4 separate regions of the Homo sapiens genome follow, and regions 2, 3 and 4 are each linked to region 1. The links are contacts of gene promoters, found by promoter capture Hi-C in human tissues and cell types (Jung and others, 2019). All regions are on one chromosome and are shown on one strand. Each heading gives the region's core, a stretch centred on a gene start or on the middle of the fragment in contact. The rest is flanking DNA. Distances are from core to core; before and after follow the strand shown.

Region 1 (3,607 bases), core at 804-3,303:
TCTGCTGCCTCAGTCTCCCCAGTAGCTGGGATTACAGGCATTACAGGCATGCACCACCACTCCCAACTAATTTTTGTATTTTTAGTAGAGACAGGGTTTTGCCATGTTGGCCAGGCTGGTCTCGAAACCATGACCTCAGGTGATCCGCCCACCTTGGCATCCCAAAGTGCTAGGATTACAAGCATGAGGCACCGCGCCCGGCCTGGAGTTTTATTATTACTCAAATCAGTCTCCCGGAGCATTGGGGGAGCAGAGTTTTTAAAGATAACTTGGTGGGTAGGGGGAAGCCAGTGAGCCAGGAGTGCTGCTGATTGGTCAGAGATGAAATCATGGGAGTTGGAGCTGTCTTCTTGGGCTGAGTCAGTTCTTGGGTCTGGGGGCCACAAGATCAGATGAGCCAGTTTATTGATCTGAGTGGTGCCAGCTGATCCATCAAGTGCAGGTTCTGCAAAATATCTCAAGCACCGGCCGGGCACGGGGGCTCACGCCTGTAATCCCAGCACTTTGGAAGGCTGAGGCAGGTGGATCACCTGAGGTCGGGAGTTTGAGACCAGCCTGACCAACATAGAGAAACCCCATCTCTACTAAAAATACAGAATTAGCCGGGTGTGGTGGTGCATGCCTGTAATCCCAGCTACTCAGGAGGCTGAGGCAGGAGAAACGCTTGAACCCGGGAGTTGGAGGTTGTGGTGAGCCGAGAACGCACCATTGCACTCCGGCCTGGGCAAGAAGAGCGAAACTGTCTAAAAAAAAAAAAAAAGAGAAATCTCAAGCACTGGTCTTAGGAGCAGTTTAGGGAGGGTTAGAATCTTGTAGCCTCCAGCTACATGACTCCTAAACCATAATTTCTAATCTTGTGGCTAATGTTAGTCCTACAAAGGCAATCTAGTCCCCAGGCAAGAAGGAGGTCTGCTTTGGGAAAGGGCTGTCTTTGTTTAAACCGTAAACTATACATATAGGTTTCTCCCAAAGTTAGTTCAGCCTTTGCCAAGGAATGAGCAAGGACAGCTTGGAGGTTAGAAGCAAGATGGAGTCAGTTAAGTTGATCTCTTTCACTGTCTCAGTCATAATTTTGCAAAGGCTGTTTCAAGCTGAGATCGCACCACTGCACTCCAACCTGGGTGACAGAGCGAGACTCTGTCTCAAAAAAATAAAAATAAAAATAAAAATAAACTCATAATAATCTTTGAAGTGGGTACTACTATCAAATATTAGTTCCATCTCACAGAGGAGGAAACTGAGGTTTAGAAAGTCTGATCAACTCGCCCAAGTCCACCTTTGATGGAGAAAGCTGACCCACTGAAGCCCCCAACATTTTCCAACTGGACACTTGGAAATGTTGGGGGAACATTCTAGTTTGCCAAGGAGCTGAAATCATCCGGTCTTTAAAGACCCTCCCATGCCCCCGTTTGTGGTTAACTCCTTCATCCCTGCTCCAGGGAGTGGCCTCCACCTCTCCATTTTGAAGGAGAATGATGTCTGTGGCCACCAAGGTCAGAAGCCAAAGGACAGAGCTTTTCTCTGATGCCCAGGAGCCTTGGCAGGAAGAGTGCTTGGAGAGTTGAGAGTCAGAGACTGGGGAAAGCTGGGTAGTCAGGAGCTTCCAGAAGGGTAGGAAGAATGCGAGGTTCCCCAGGTTCTGGGCCCTGCTCGGCTTCCAACTGGCTATGTGATTTTGGGCAAGTGCCTTCTCTTCTCTGGGCCTCAGTTTCCCTCAAAATGGGAGGATTCTTCTAGGTCTAATAATCTCTTCCCTTTCCCCACCTCCCCTTATCTCTCCTACACAAACTGCTCCCCACTGCCCCACCCAGACTGGCTCTGATATTCCAGAAGCCTTTAACTACGGTTTGAAAGTCCCAGGTGGAAGTTGCCGCCCATCCCTGAGGTTCCTCCTGAGCTCTGGGCCCAGGGCTTTAGGTCCTGCTAGGGTATGTGGCCTTGGCAGGTTGGAGAGATCAGAGGGGAGGAAGGCCCAGTGCCTCTGAGACAGGCCTCAGGGAGGCCTGCATTGTGATGACCTGATCCACTCTATGACATCATCCTCTCTTCCACCCTCTCTTCTCCCTGGTCAACCGCTCTGCAAACAACCATCAATCTGATCCCACAGGCCTGAGAAAGTCTGCTCTCCAGTACCTGCTGCTGATCTGTTTCAGCCGACAAGAGGCACCATGAAATTGGAATTCACGGAGAAAAACTACAATAGCTTCGTGCTGCAGAACCTGAACAGACAGAGGAAACGCAAAGAGTACTGGGACATGGCCCTGAGTGTGGACAACCACGTCTTCTTTGCACATCGCAATGTGCTGGCTGCTGTCTCCCCACTGGTGAGGAGCCTCATCTCCAGCAATGACATGAAGACCGCTGATGAGCTTTTCATCACCATTGACACCAGTTACCTGAGCCCGGTCACAGTGGACCAGCTTCTGGACTACTTCTATAGCGGCAAGGTGGTGATCTCCGAGCAAAATGTGGAGGAGCTGCTTCGTGGGGCTCAGTATTTCAACACACCACGCCTTCGAGTTCACTGTAACGACTTCCTTATTAAGTCCATCTGCCGTGCCAACTGCTTGCGCTACCTCTTCTTGGCTGAGCTGTTTGAGCTCAAAGAGGTATCAGACGTAGCTTACTCTGGCATTCGGGACAACTTCCACTACTGGGCCAGTCCTGAGGGCTCCATGCACTTCATGCGCTGTCCACCTGTTATCTTTGGCCGCCTGCTCCGTGATGAAAACCTTCACGTGCTCAATGAAGACCAGGCGCTCAGCGCACTCATCAATTGGGTGTACTTCCGGAAGGAGGATCGGGAGAAGTATTTCAAGAAGTTCTTCAATTACATCAATCTCAATGCTGTCTCCAATAAGACGCTGGTGTTTGCCAGCAACAAGCTGGTGGGCATGGAGAACACCTCATCCCATACAACCCTGATTGAGAGTGTCCTGATGGACCGCAAGCAGGAGCGGCCATGCAGCCTGCTGGTCTACCAGCGGAAAGGGGCCCTGCTTGATTCCGTGGTCATCCTCGGTGGCCAGAAGGCCCACGGCCAGTTCAATGATGGAGTGTTTGCTTATATCATCCAGGAGAACCTGTGGATGAAGCTCTCAGACATGCCCTATCGGGCAGCAGCACTTAGTGCCACCTCTGCTGGTCGCTACATCTACATCTCTGGTGGCACCACTGAGCAGATTTCAGGGCTGAAGACAGCCTGGCGGTATGACATGGATGACAACTCCTGGACCAAGTTGCCTGACCTGCCCATCGGGCTTGTCTTCCACACCATGGTGACCTGTGGGGGGACAGTGTACTCAGTGGGCGGGAGCATTGCCCCAAGGCGGTATGTCTCCAACATCTATCGCTATGATGAGCGGAAGGAAGTCTGGTGCCTGGCAGGAAAGATGAGCATCCCCATGGATGGCACCGCCGTGATCACTAAAGGAGACAGGCATCTGTACATTGTCACTGGACGGTGCTTGGTGAAAGGTTATATCTCCCGGGTCGGGGTAGTGGACTGCTTTGACACCAGCACTGGGGACGTGGTCCAGTGTATCACCTTCCCCATTGAGTTCAACCATCGGCCCCTGCTCTCTTTCCAACAGGACAACATCCTCTG
Region 2 (3,607 bases), core at 689-3,188, 230 kb before region 1:
TACTTCCCCACTTCCCCCTCCCCCTAGCCCCTGGTAACCACCATTCTACTTTCTGTTTCTATGAGTTTGAAAACTCTAGGTACCTCATATAAGTGGAATCATACAGTATTTGCTGTTTTGTGACTGGCTTATTTCGCTTAGCATAAAGTCCTCAAGGTTCGTCCATGTTGTAGCATGTGTCAGAATTTTCTACCTTTCAAGGCTGAATAACATTGCATCGTATGCATATAATAATTTTTACTTTAAGAATTCTTATTATTCTTAAAGTAAAATTCTTAAAATCTCAAAGACACATAAAAACACAGAGAATAGTATAATGGGCTCCCGGGTACCTGTTCTCCAGCTTCAACAAACTCGCTTTATCTGTACTTCCATCCACTCATCCCCTACCTTATCAAGCTAATTCCAGGAGTATTGTTTAATTTGCAAATATTTCAGGATGTATCTAAAAGATAAAGGCTCTTATTAAAAACATAACCACAATACCATTCTTAGGCCCCCAAACATTTCACAATAAGTCTGTAGTGTAATTAACTCTCAAGTCAGTGTCTAAATTCCTGTAGAGTTTTTTCATTTGATTGTATTTTTTTTTTAATTGTAACTAGCCATTTAAGCTTCCAAAGATCCGAGTGGTAGAGAGGGGTAGTTCGAAACCAAGATAAATGGAATTTGTACAAATCGGACTGCAGTTAAATTTCATGTTCTTGGAACAATCTTTTCAACAGTCTTTTCCTTGCCTGTCTGTTCCAGCCTGTCTGCTCACCTGTAAAAGCAACAAGAGTAGGTAGGAAAACAATTACTCCTTTGCAGTTGAGACACTCCAAAGATTAAGCCTGTTAATTATTTGTACTCTCTGTTCTGGATTTGGCTTCTTCTTACCCTCCTCCAGGAAAATTGAGTAATGCCTAGTTTTGAGATGGGTAAGAGGATTGTCTCTTGAATGTACGTGGAACTATTAACAGCAACTTGAAAATGAAAAGAATTATGACTGAAAAAGAAAGAAAAAAAATGAGTAAGAGATACTGGAGGACATTGTAAGATGGATCTAAGGATAAGGATAAAATAACAAGATTAGCCAGGGAATTTCTAGGACAACAGTTGGAAAATCATACCCTGGGTAAAGGATGTGAAAGAAGAGATTTGGGGCAGGAATTTTACCAACAATCTAAGATAAAACTTTCCTATCTTGTAATCATTATTGTTTTATGTTAAATTAGAGTTGCCAGATAAAACACAGGATGCTTAGTAAAATCTGAATTTCAGATAAACAATGAATACTTTTTAAACTATAGCTATGACACAAAGTATATAGACATGCTTATACTAAAAAAAGTATTGTTTGGCCGGGAGCGGTGGCTCACTCTTGTAATCCTAGCACTTTGGGAGGCCGAGGTGGGTGGATTACAAGGTCAGGAATTTGAGATCAGCCTGGCCAATATGGTGAAACCCCGTCTCTACTAAAATTACAAAAATTAGCTGGGCATGGTGGTGGGCGCCTGTAGTCCCAGGTACTCGGGAGGCTGAGGCAGGAGAATCACTTGAACCTGGGAAGCAGAGGTTGCAGTGAGCCAAGATCGTGCCACCGCACTCCAGCCTGGGTGACAGAGCGAGATTCCGCCTCAAAAAAAAAAGTATTGTTTATCTGAAATTGAAATTAAATTTGAGCAACCTGTATTCTTATTTGCTGAATCTGGCAAGTTCATATTAAATGCATGGTAGCCAGGCACGGTGACTTATGCCTGTAATCCCAGCACTTTGGGAGGCCGAGGCAGGCAGATCACCTGAAGTCAGGAGTTCAAGACCAGCCTGACCAACATGGTGAAACCTCATCTCTACAAAAATACAAAAAATTAGCCAGGCGTGATGGCGAGTGCCTGTAATCCCAGCCACCTGGGAGGCTGAGGCAGGAGAATCACTTGAACCTGCGTGGCAGAGGTTGCAGTGAGCTGAGATCGCGCCATTGCACTCCAGCTTGAGAGACAGAGTGAGACTCTATCTGAAAACAAACAAACAAACAAACAAATAAATACATAAATAAATAATAAAAAATTTAAAAAAATATTAAATGCATGGTGATTCAACTTGTAAAACCGAGGACTATTTGGCCTTTAGGCTCTTAGTTTTCTTTCTTGGGATATGATTGAGTTTTCCTTATTCAGTCTACTTTTCTTATATATCTATCTAACATTATAGCATTATATTTTAAAAATTGGCCCAGTTTACATTAGCACCAAGTATAAGTGTATAGTCATGCACTGCACAATGATATTTTGGTCAGTATGTATGTTTTGGTCAATGATGTGTGGTCTGCATATATGACAATGGTCCATAGTTTATGATTCCATATTTTTACTGTACCTTTTCTATGTTTAGATACACAAATACTTACCATTGTGTTACAATTGCCTACAGTGTCCAGTACAGTAACACACTGGACAGGTTTCTAGCTTAGCAGCCATAGGCCATGCCATATAGCTTAGGTATATATTAGGCTAGGTTCGTGCAAGTCCAGTCTGTGATGTTCCCACAATGATGAAATCGTCTAATGACGCATTTCTCAGAATGCATCTCAGTCTAAACAACGCATGACTCTACTTATTTTCTTCTACACTTAGCAATATTAGGTCTGATTAGTCTTTTCATTTTTGCTAACCTGCAGGGCAAAATGTTTGAGAGCTATTAGTTTAGAGCACTTCTTAAATGAGGCAAACTTTTCTCTTGTGATTCCTATAATCAAGGTTTTATTCAAAAATAATTTTAAATTTTATTCTATATTATAGGAATGTGTACAATGAAATGTAATGATGTATAATACATTGGCTGTTTTTGAATTCCAACCATGGATTTCCCAGCTACTGGCAGTGAAACTGATCTTTTCTGTACGTACTCAAGTCAACACTCAAGAATTTCAACTTACCTTTAGCGAAAGCAAATATTTATATTTAAAAAGAAAACATTTGAATTCAGAATTCATTAAGATAAAAAAGTTAGCAAACTACAGATGCCTTGTTAGTTGACAGTCCTAATGGCGACGTCTAGGTCAGATAACTTATATTGACTTAAAACAGCATTGTCTTGACTTTCCACAGTCGTATTTGTGATTATGGAAATAATTTTAAAAAGACTAGTCTCTTTAATTTACATTTTCACAAAACGCTGTTGAAAGAGCAAATGTCTGCTCAGTTGTTTTTCCTTTGCTTAAAAAAAAAAAAAGTGCCAGGAATCCCACCCCACCCTGCTGCTGGGTAACAGTCAATCATTTATTATTCCTGGATCAAACACAAGCATTCATGCCTATGAAAACGTTTGGCAATGAATGGGATCTTGGTCTCTACTAAAAACAAAAAATGGCTAAAAGGAGACTTCAATTTATGTTCAAATTCTATGGCTGAATTCCTATAATTCCTAACTGGTGAAAATATTGGCAAGCTACAAGATTTTACTTAGAGTCAGATTTACTTCTTTGGTGTATGCCCAGAGGTGTTATTGAAAGCTATTTGTGGCCAGCTTTCCAGGAGACCAAATGGGCCTTAAATGGAATGAATATTGGCCCTGCAGTACAGTGCACAAGGAGAAGGAGGAGAATTGGACACTTTTATTAAAAAAA
Region 3 (3,607 bases), core at 701-3,200, 220 kb after region 1:
ACATTTCCAATGCTTGATTTGGCCAATGCAGTGGTCACACCTGTAATCCCAGCACTTTGGTATGCCAAGGTGGGAGGATCGCCCCAGTTATCTACAAAAATTAAAAAACAAAAATAAATGTTTGACTTGATTATGGGTTAATCCTCTTAAATTCATATGTAAATATACTTACTCTGTAACATTAAAAAAAAAATCATGAACATAATGTGTTCCACTGTGCTGTGACAGTGAATTCTTCTTGGGGGGTTAAGGCTCGTGGTCCCTTCTTGTACCTACACTAAAAGTTACATACTTTAACATGGTCTTCTTTTTAGAGTTTCATTGCCTCATTCATTCACTCAATCCTACATTTAAGCATCTATTTGGTGACAGGCATTAAACCAAAAACAAAGGCATCGTTTCCTACTTTTTTTTTTTTTTTTTTTTGAGATGGAGTCTCGCTGTCGCCCAGGCTGGAGTGCAGTGGTGCCATCTCGGCTCACTGCAGGCTCCACCCACTGGGGTTCACGCCATTCTCCTGCCTCAGCCTGCAGAGTAGCTGGGACTACAGGCGCCCGCCACCCCGCCTGGCTAATTTTTTGTATTTTTAGTAGAGACGGGGTTTCACTGTGTTAGCCAGGATGGTCTCGATCTCCTGACCTCGTGATCCGTCCGCCTCGGCCTCCCGAAGTGCTGGGATTACAGGCGTGAGCCACTGCGCCCGGCCCGTTTCCTACTTTCAAAAAGTATATGCTATAAGAAAGAAACAAAAGTAAATCACTGCAGGATGTAAGTATTATGGTAACGCTAGGCACTAGGTGCTATGGAGAAGTAGCTGCCAAGAGACAGCAGTGTAGTCAGGAAACTGCAAAACGTTTAGTATGGCTAGATAGTAAGGAAGCAGCCAGAAACCGATCATAAAATGAAATGCTATTAATATCCCTGCTGTTAATATATTAATACCCTTACCTTCCTTAGCCTTTTTATAGTATTTTGTTTCTGCTTTGCTATGGACCTGGTAAACAGATAACTGTGCCCACTGGTAAGAGTAAAAATACTTCCAAAGACTCACCTAGAAGTAAAAAACAAAGCACTTGAAAGCAGAAACTTTAGAATTCATTAGTTTTCTGTACAGAATGTTCTGATCTCTATACTACAAACATGAATGTGCTATCCTTTACCATTACGCAGAAGTATGCATTGCTGAATCAAGGCGTATTTACTGACTGACTCCTACAAGCCAAGAATTACATTAGGAATATAGAGACAGGCCAAATGCAGTGGCTCACACTTGTAATCTCAACCCTTTGGGAGGCCCTGGTGAGAGAAGAGCTTGAGTACAGGAGCTCAAGACTAGCCTGGACAACATAGAGAAAACCCCATCTCTACTCAAAAAAATAAGTAAATAAATAAAAATTAAAAAAATTAAATTAGTGTGGCATGGTGGCACACTCCTGTAGTCTTAGCTACTCAGGAGGCTAAGGCAGGAGCTTCACTCGAGCCCAGTAGTTTGAGGTTACAGTGAGCTATGACTGCAATACTATACTCCAGCCTGGTCAACATGGTGAGACAATTTCTAAAAATAAGTATTTGTTAATCTAATAAGATATAAAAACATGGGCCCTAACCTCAAGAAGCTTATTCTAACAATTTTTGAAACCCAGATGCAAGCAGCCAACTGTAACATAATATTTAAAGGCCATAAAACAGGGAAAAATTAGGAGTAAGAGTTCTGAATTAATGTGAAGGTAAGAGTTAAGATTTCATAGAAAAAGGAGTATTTCACATTCCTGACTCAATCTAAGGAGGGCTTTTGCCACTCTCTCAAAATGGTTTGCTTCTTTATGTAGGAATCTTTTTGCATCCTCTTAAGCTTTTCATTTGCTCATTATGTATCCTTTGTAGCGTGTTATCCTAAGGCCATCCTGCCTTCAACTATCATGCCCAAAGCAGTCTTACAAAATTGCTAGTACAAGTAGCTGGCTGGGAAAAGACAAATCAAGGTTATGTTTCTTCTCCTTCATTCCTTGTTCCTTTGAAATCTTAAGATCTTGGTCATAGACAAATGAAAAACTGGCCAACCTGGTCCCTGTGGCCATAATTTTCAAGCATATCCTCTCCTACTCACAACAGTTTCCTTTGATCAGAGGCTCCATTTGTCTTAAAAAGGATGGACCAATATAATGGAGAAAAGCTATATTCAAAATAAGTCTGGGACAAAACCATAGATGGGCTTGATTAAAATGAGGTACAATTTTTACTACTAGGTAAAATAAAATCACACACACACATTGTGTGTGTGTGTGTGTGTGTGTGTGTGTGTGTGTGTGTGTGTGTGGGGCAGGCAGTCCCATACATAGGTTGCCCAAGATTACCTCTGGTGTCCATCTCCTGTACAACCCCCTTCCCCATGTGCGCAGGCAGGGCTGTGAATGTGATGTATTTCATTCCCATTATTAGGTTAAATCATATGACAAAGGAGGAAAGACGTTCAGATGTAATGAAGATTCCAAGTAAGGTGAATTCAAGCTAAAGACAGATTATCCTGGGTGAGCCTGGGCATGACTTAATCAGAGAAAGCAGAACTGAGTCCTTCCCAAGAGATTCTCTTGCCAATTCTTCAGACTAAGATGTTGTGAGAAGGCATGCGAAAGGTACCATGTGGCAGGGGCTTGAGGGCAGCTTCTAGGAGCTGAAAGCAGTCACCAGTTGACGACCAGCAAGAAATGGGGGACCTCAGTCCTATAATCACAAGAACCACATTCTACCAGTGAACTTGGAAGGAGACACGGATGAAATCACAGCTCTGGGCCGGGTACAGTGGCTCACGCCTGTAATCCCAGCACTTTGGGAGGCCGAGGCGGGCAGATCACAAGGTCAAGAGATAGAGACCAACCTGGCCAACATGATGAAACCCCATCTCTACTAAAAATACAAAAATTAGCTGGGCGTGGTGGCGCACACCTGTAGTCCCAGCTACTTGGGAGGCTGAGGCAGGAGAATCACTTGAATCCGGGAGGTGGAGGTTGCAGTGAGCCAAGATCGTGCCACTGCACTCCAGCCTGGCGACAGAGCAAGACTGTCTCAAAAAAAAAAAGAAAAGAAAGAAATCACAGCTCCTGCAAGGTAAGACCCTGGGGGCCCAGCAGCTAACCCCATACCAGGACTCCTGATTCATGGAAATTGTAAGGAAATATTTGTGTTTTAAACAAATAAATTTGTAGTAATTTGTTACAGAAAACACAATGTGTATGTATATAACTTGAATAAAAATTATTGTACCACAGTGAAAAAGTTTCTTCTCCAGAATTTTGGCTACACTGATTTGATTACAAAAGATATAAAAATTAACACATTTTTATTTAAGCAGTATAGCAGGTTTTAAAGCCTCAATCTGGTAACAGCTAGCTTCATGCCAGAAACTGAACTGGGCTCTCCCATCTTTATACACTGAACATCAGGTTTAACAGACTTGCTTAAAGTCACATACCTCAGAAATATCAAAACCATAATCTGAACTCAAGTCTATCGAATTCTAAGGTTCATACTCAACCCACAAAACCACCTTCTACTTTAAAGTAACATTCTTTTTTATAATCTAGTTTGATTAGTAAGTATCAACTATTCC
Region 4 (3,607 bases), core at 707-3,206, 180 kb after region 1:
ACTAAGACATTTAATTTTTAATTTAATTAGCTCTACATTGACTTACTGGACAAGCACTGGTTTAGACTATGAAATAAAGATAACTTATCTTTATCAAAGTTATCTCTGACTCCTAAGCATTTTCTTTCAATTTTTTATTTCCTCTCCCAACTTTTACCTTAATGACTCTTAAGCTTTTATTTCATAAAGGTAGAAAAGGAAATTTAGCAGTGATGTCAGAAAAATTTACTTACAAAGTCTGTTCTGACTGGTGGTTGTTAGGATTGAACCGATAAGAAGGAAGTTGTTCAATATCTGCTTTAGTCAGTCCACGAGGCTTTGCCTCTCCCAGTCGCTCTGCCAGGTTTAACAGGGCCTGCAGCGGTAAAAGACGACATATTTTCATCTATCTTTACATTTTGCATTCCAATACTTTTTTTTTTTAAGAGATGGAGTCCTGCTATGTTGCCCAGGCTAGAGTATAGCGGCTGTTCACAGGCATGATCATTGTGCACTGTGGCCTCGAACTCCTGACCTCATGCAATACTCTTGCCTCAGCCTTCTGAGTATCTGGAGCTACAATTGCGTACCACTGCAGCCCTATTAAAATAATTTTTTAAATGTTTCTTATGAAAAAATCTAAACACATACAAAAGGAGAAAAGTAACATTAATGAACCTTGATCTATCCATTACGCAGGTCAATAGTCCATGGCTAATCTTTTACCTATTACAATCTATCCTAAACCTCACCTTATTTTAAAACAAAACTGAAAGATGGTATCATTTCATTTGTATCAAGTGCATCTGTAAAACAAAGTTAGTAACTTTGACCCTGTGAGCTGGATAATTCTTTGTTGTCGGGGCTGGCCTGGGGACTACAGGATGTTTTGCAGCATTCCTGGCCTCCCTCTACTCTCAGTGCCAGTTAACACCCCCTAGCTGTAACAACCAAAAATGTTTCCACACATTCCCAAATATCCCCTAGGGGACAAACTGTCCCCAGGTTGAGAATCGCTGCTCTAAAAAGATAGACTTTTTAGAATATAACCACAATGACATCATCACACCTAAAATATTAACACTAATTCTTTAACATCAAATGACCAATTAACGTTCAAATGTCTTTGTTTTCAATTCAAAACTTTAAAAAGTAGTTTGTTCAAATAAGGATCCAAACAAATCCGTAACTTACCATGGCCTAATATGTCTCAAGACTCTTTTTCACTCTTAAATTTGAAGAAACCAGGTTAATGAGCTGTAGAAATTCCCAGTTTGAAATCTGCTAAATGAACCTCCCATCCCTGACCCACTGGGTTTAACAAATCCCTTGCCCCCTTGTCCTATAAATAGGGAGATGTGAATACTTATACCATAAGACCCATCGTGTCCACTGGTTATGTTAGCAGCCAATGATGGAATACTGTCAAGATCCATTAATTCATTAAAAATGGCAAAACAGTAATATTCTTATTTTATCATTCTTCATTTATTAGAATACCTCATATTAAACAATACTCAGAATAATTTAGGTAGAATAGGATAAATGAGACCACCTAATTTCTTTTATGAAGTATCCACCATCAACTCATGAACTTTAACATATTTGATGTGTTTCAATACTGTAATTATTATGCCCTTTTTTTTGAGTCAGAGTCTTGCTTCATCCTCCAGGCTGAAGTGCAATGGCATGATCTTGGTTAACTGCAACCTCTGCCTCCCAGGTTCAGGCGATTCTCTTGCCTCCTCCTCCTGAGTAGCTGCCCAGCTAATTTTTTGTATTTTTTATTTTTTAGTAGAGACAGGGTTTTGCCACGTTGACCAGGCTGGGCTTAAACTCCTGACATCAAGTGATCCACCTGCCTTGGCCTCCCAAAGTGCTGGGACTACAGGAGTGAGCCACTATGCCCAGCCAATTATTATGCTTATTGATTTTACACCAGTACCTCCTTTCCTTAATGACTCTAATAACTCATTTGGTTTATCTCGCAATTAGTCTGCCTTTTGTGGACTGCTTTTCTCCATTTTTTCAGGTTGCCCAGGGTTAACAGAATGGGTAACAAATAATGACAGATGAGAGAAACAGAAATAAATTCCCCAAATGTCAACAGTTAATGTAATAACTGTGTGTTTTATTATGATACTACAACTTTGCTTCTGTGTCAACATTATTTAGATAATTGCGTCATCTAAATAATTTGTTCCCCTTTCACTAGCTCCCCAGCCCTTCTAAATGCTGGAATAGAAAGTAAATTGCCAGGCCACACATGGTGGCTCAAGCCTGTAATCCCAGCACTTTGGGAGGCTAAGGCAGGCAGATCACTTGAGGTCAGGCATTTGAGACCCACCTGGTCAACACGGTGAAACCCCGTCTCTACTAAAATTACAAAAAAATTAGACAGGCATGGTGGCGTGCACCTGTAATCTCAGCTACTTGGAAGACTAAGGGAGGAGAATCACTAGAACCCGGGAGGCAGAGGTTGCAGTGAGCCGAGACTGCACCATTGCACTCCAAGCCTGGGCGACAAAGGGAGACTCCATCTCGGGGGGGGGGGGGGGGGGGGGGGGGGGGGAAGTAAATTGCCAAATTGATGGTGATTACAATATATAAAATTTAGATAAAATTTATGATATCATTGATAATGATCTTTTATATCTCTTAGTACACAAAGGTCAACAAATACAATTTGTGACAGAATATGTTAAGTTCTTACAGTATAAAGACTACACAGGCATATTTCACTTTACTGCGCTTTGCTTTACTGCATGCCACAGATACGACCTTTTTAAAACAAAAACAAAAAATTGAAGGTGTGTGGCCACCCCATATTGAGCAAATCTATTAATTCAATTTTTCCAACAGTCATGTAGTCATTTCATATCCTGGTGTCACATTTTGGTAATTCTCACAGCATTTCAAACTTTTTCATATCTGCTATAATGATCTCTGATCTTTGACGTTACTATTGCACTTGTTTTGTGGTACCACAAACTGTACTTGTATAAGACAGAAAACTTAATTGATAAATGTTGGGTATTCTGACTACTCCACTGAACGACTGGCTATTCGCCCATCTCTCTCCGTCTCCTGCGGTATTCCTAGTCTCTGAGACACAACAATATTGAAGTTATGCCAATTAATAACCCCACAATGGCCTCTAATTGTTCAAGTGAAAGGAAGAGTCACATGTGTCTCACTTTAAAAACTAGAAATGATTAGGCCGGGCACAGTGGCTCATGCCTGTAATCCCAGCACTTTGGGAGGCTGAGCGGGTGGATCATGAGATCAGGAGATCGAGACCATCCTGGCTAACACGGTGAAACCCCGTCTCTACTAAAAATACAAAAAATGAGCCGGTCATGGTGGCGGGCGCCTGTAGTCCTACCTACTCGGGAGGCTGAGGCGGGAGAATGACGTGAACCCAGGAGGCGGAGCTTGCAGTGAGCCGAGATTGCGCCACGGCACTCCAGCCTGGGCAACAGAGTGAGATTCCGTCTCAAAAAAACAAAACAAAAACTAGAAATGATTAAGCTTAGTAAGAAAGGCATGTCAAAGCGGAGACAGGCCAAAATGTAGGCCTCTTGCACCAAACCAGTAACCATGTTCTAAAGGCAAAGGCAAAGTTCGA

The links. The method cuts DNA at HindIII sites, captures the fragments that hold promoters and counts their contacts. A contact is called where the count stands out against the background at its distance.
Region 2: a fragment that was not itself captured here is called in contact with the fragment with the promoter of CCIN in region 1 in 2 of the 25 tissues and cell types used here (aorta and lymphoblastoid cells).
Region 3: a contact is called between a fragment that was not itself captured here and the fragment with the promoter of CCIN in region 1, in 1 of the 25 tissues and cell types used here (hippocampus).
Region 4: a contact is called between a fragment that was not itself captured here and the fragment with the promoter of CCIN in region 1, in 2 of the 25 tissues and cell types used here (IMR-90 fibroblasts and pancreas).

The regions. Positions count from the first base shown.
Region 1 is chr9:36,167,335-36,170,941 of GRCh38, forward strand. It overlaps CCIN (calicin), which reads left to right and starts at 2,054. Exons shown (of 1, transcript NM_005893.3): 1 at 2,054-3,607. The coding sequence starts at 2,169. The HindIII fragment of the contact is 27,142 bases long and covers 1-3,607 here.
Region 2 is chr9:35,932,927-35,936,533 of GRCh38, forward strand. No RefSeq gene overlaps it. Among named protein-coding and RNA genes, the nearest start is that of OR2S2, 23 kb to the right of the region's middle. The HindIII fragment of the contact is 7,970 bases long and covers 1-3,607 here.
Region 3 is chr9:36,391,207-36,394,813 of GRCh38, forward strand. The region is part of intron 1 of RNF38 (ring finger protein 38); the gene reads right to left. Among named protein-coding and RNA genes, the nearest start is that of RNF38, 7.3 kb to the right of the region's middle. RefSeq lists an enhancer at 558-1,058. The HindIII fragment of the contact is 3,014 bases long and covers 444-3,457 here.
Region 4 is chr9:36,344,599-36,348,205 of GRCh38, forward strand. It overlaps RNF38 (ring finger protein 38), which reads right to left. Exons shown (of 12, transcript NM_022781.5): 10 at 234-355. Among named protein-coding and RNA genes, the nearest start is that of RNF38, 54 kb to the right of the region's middle. The HindIII fragment of the contact is 5,567 bases long and covers 1-3,607 here.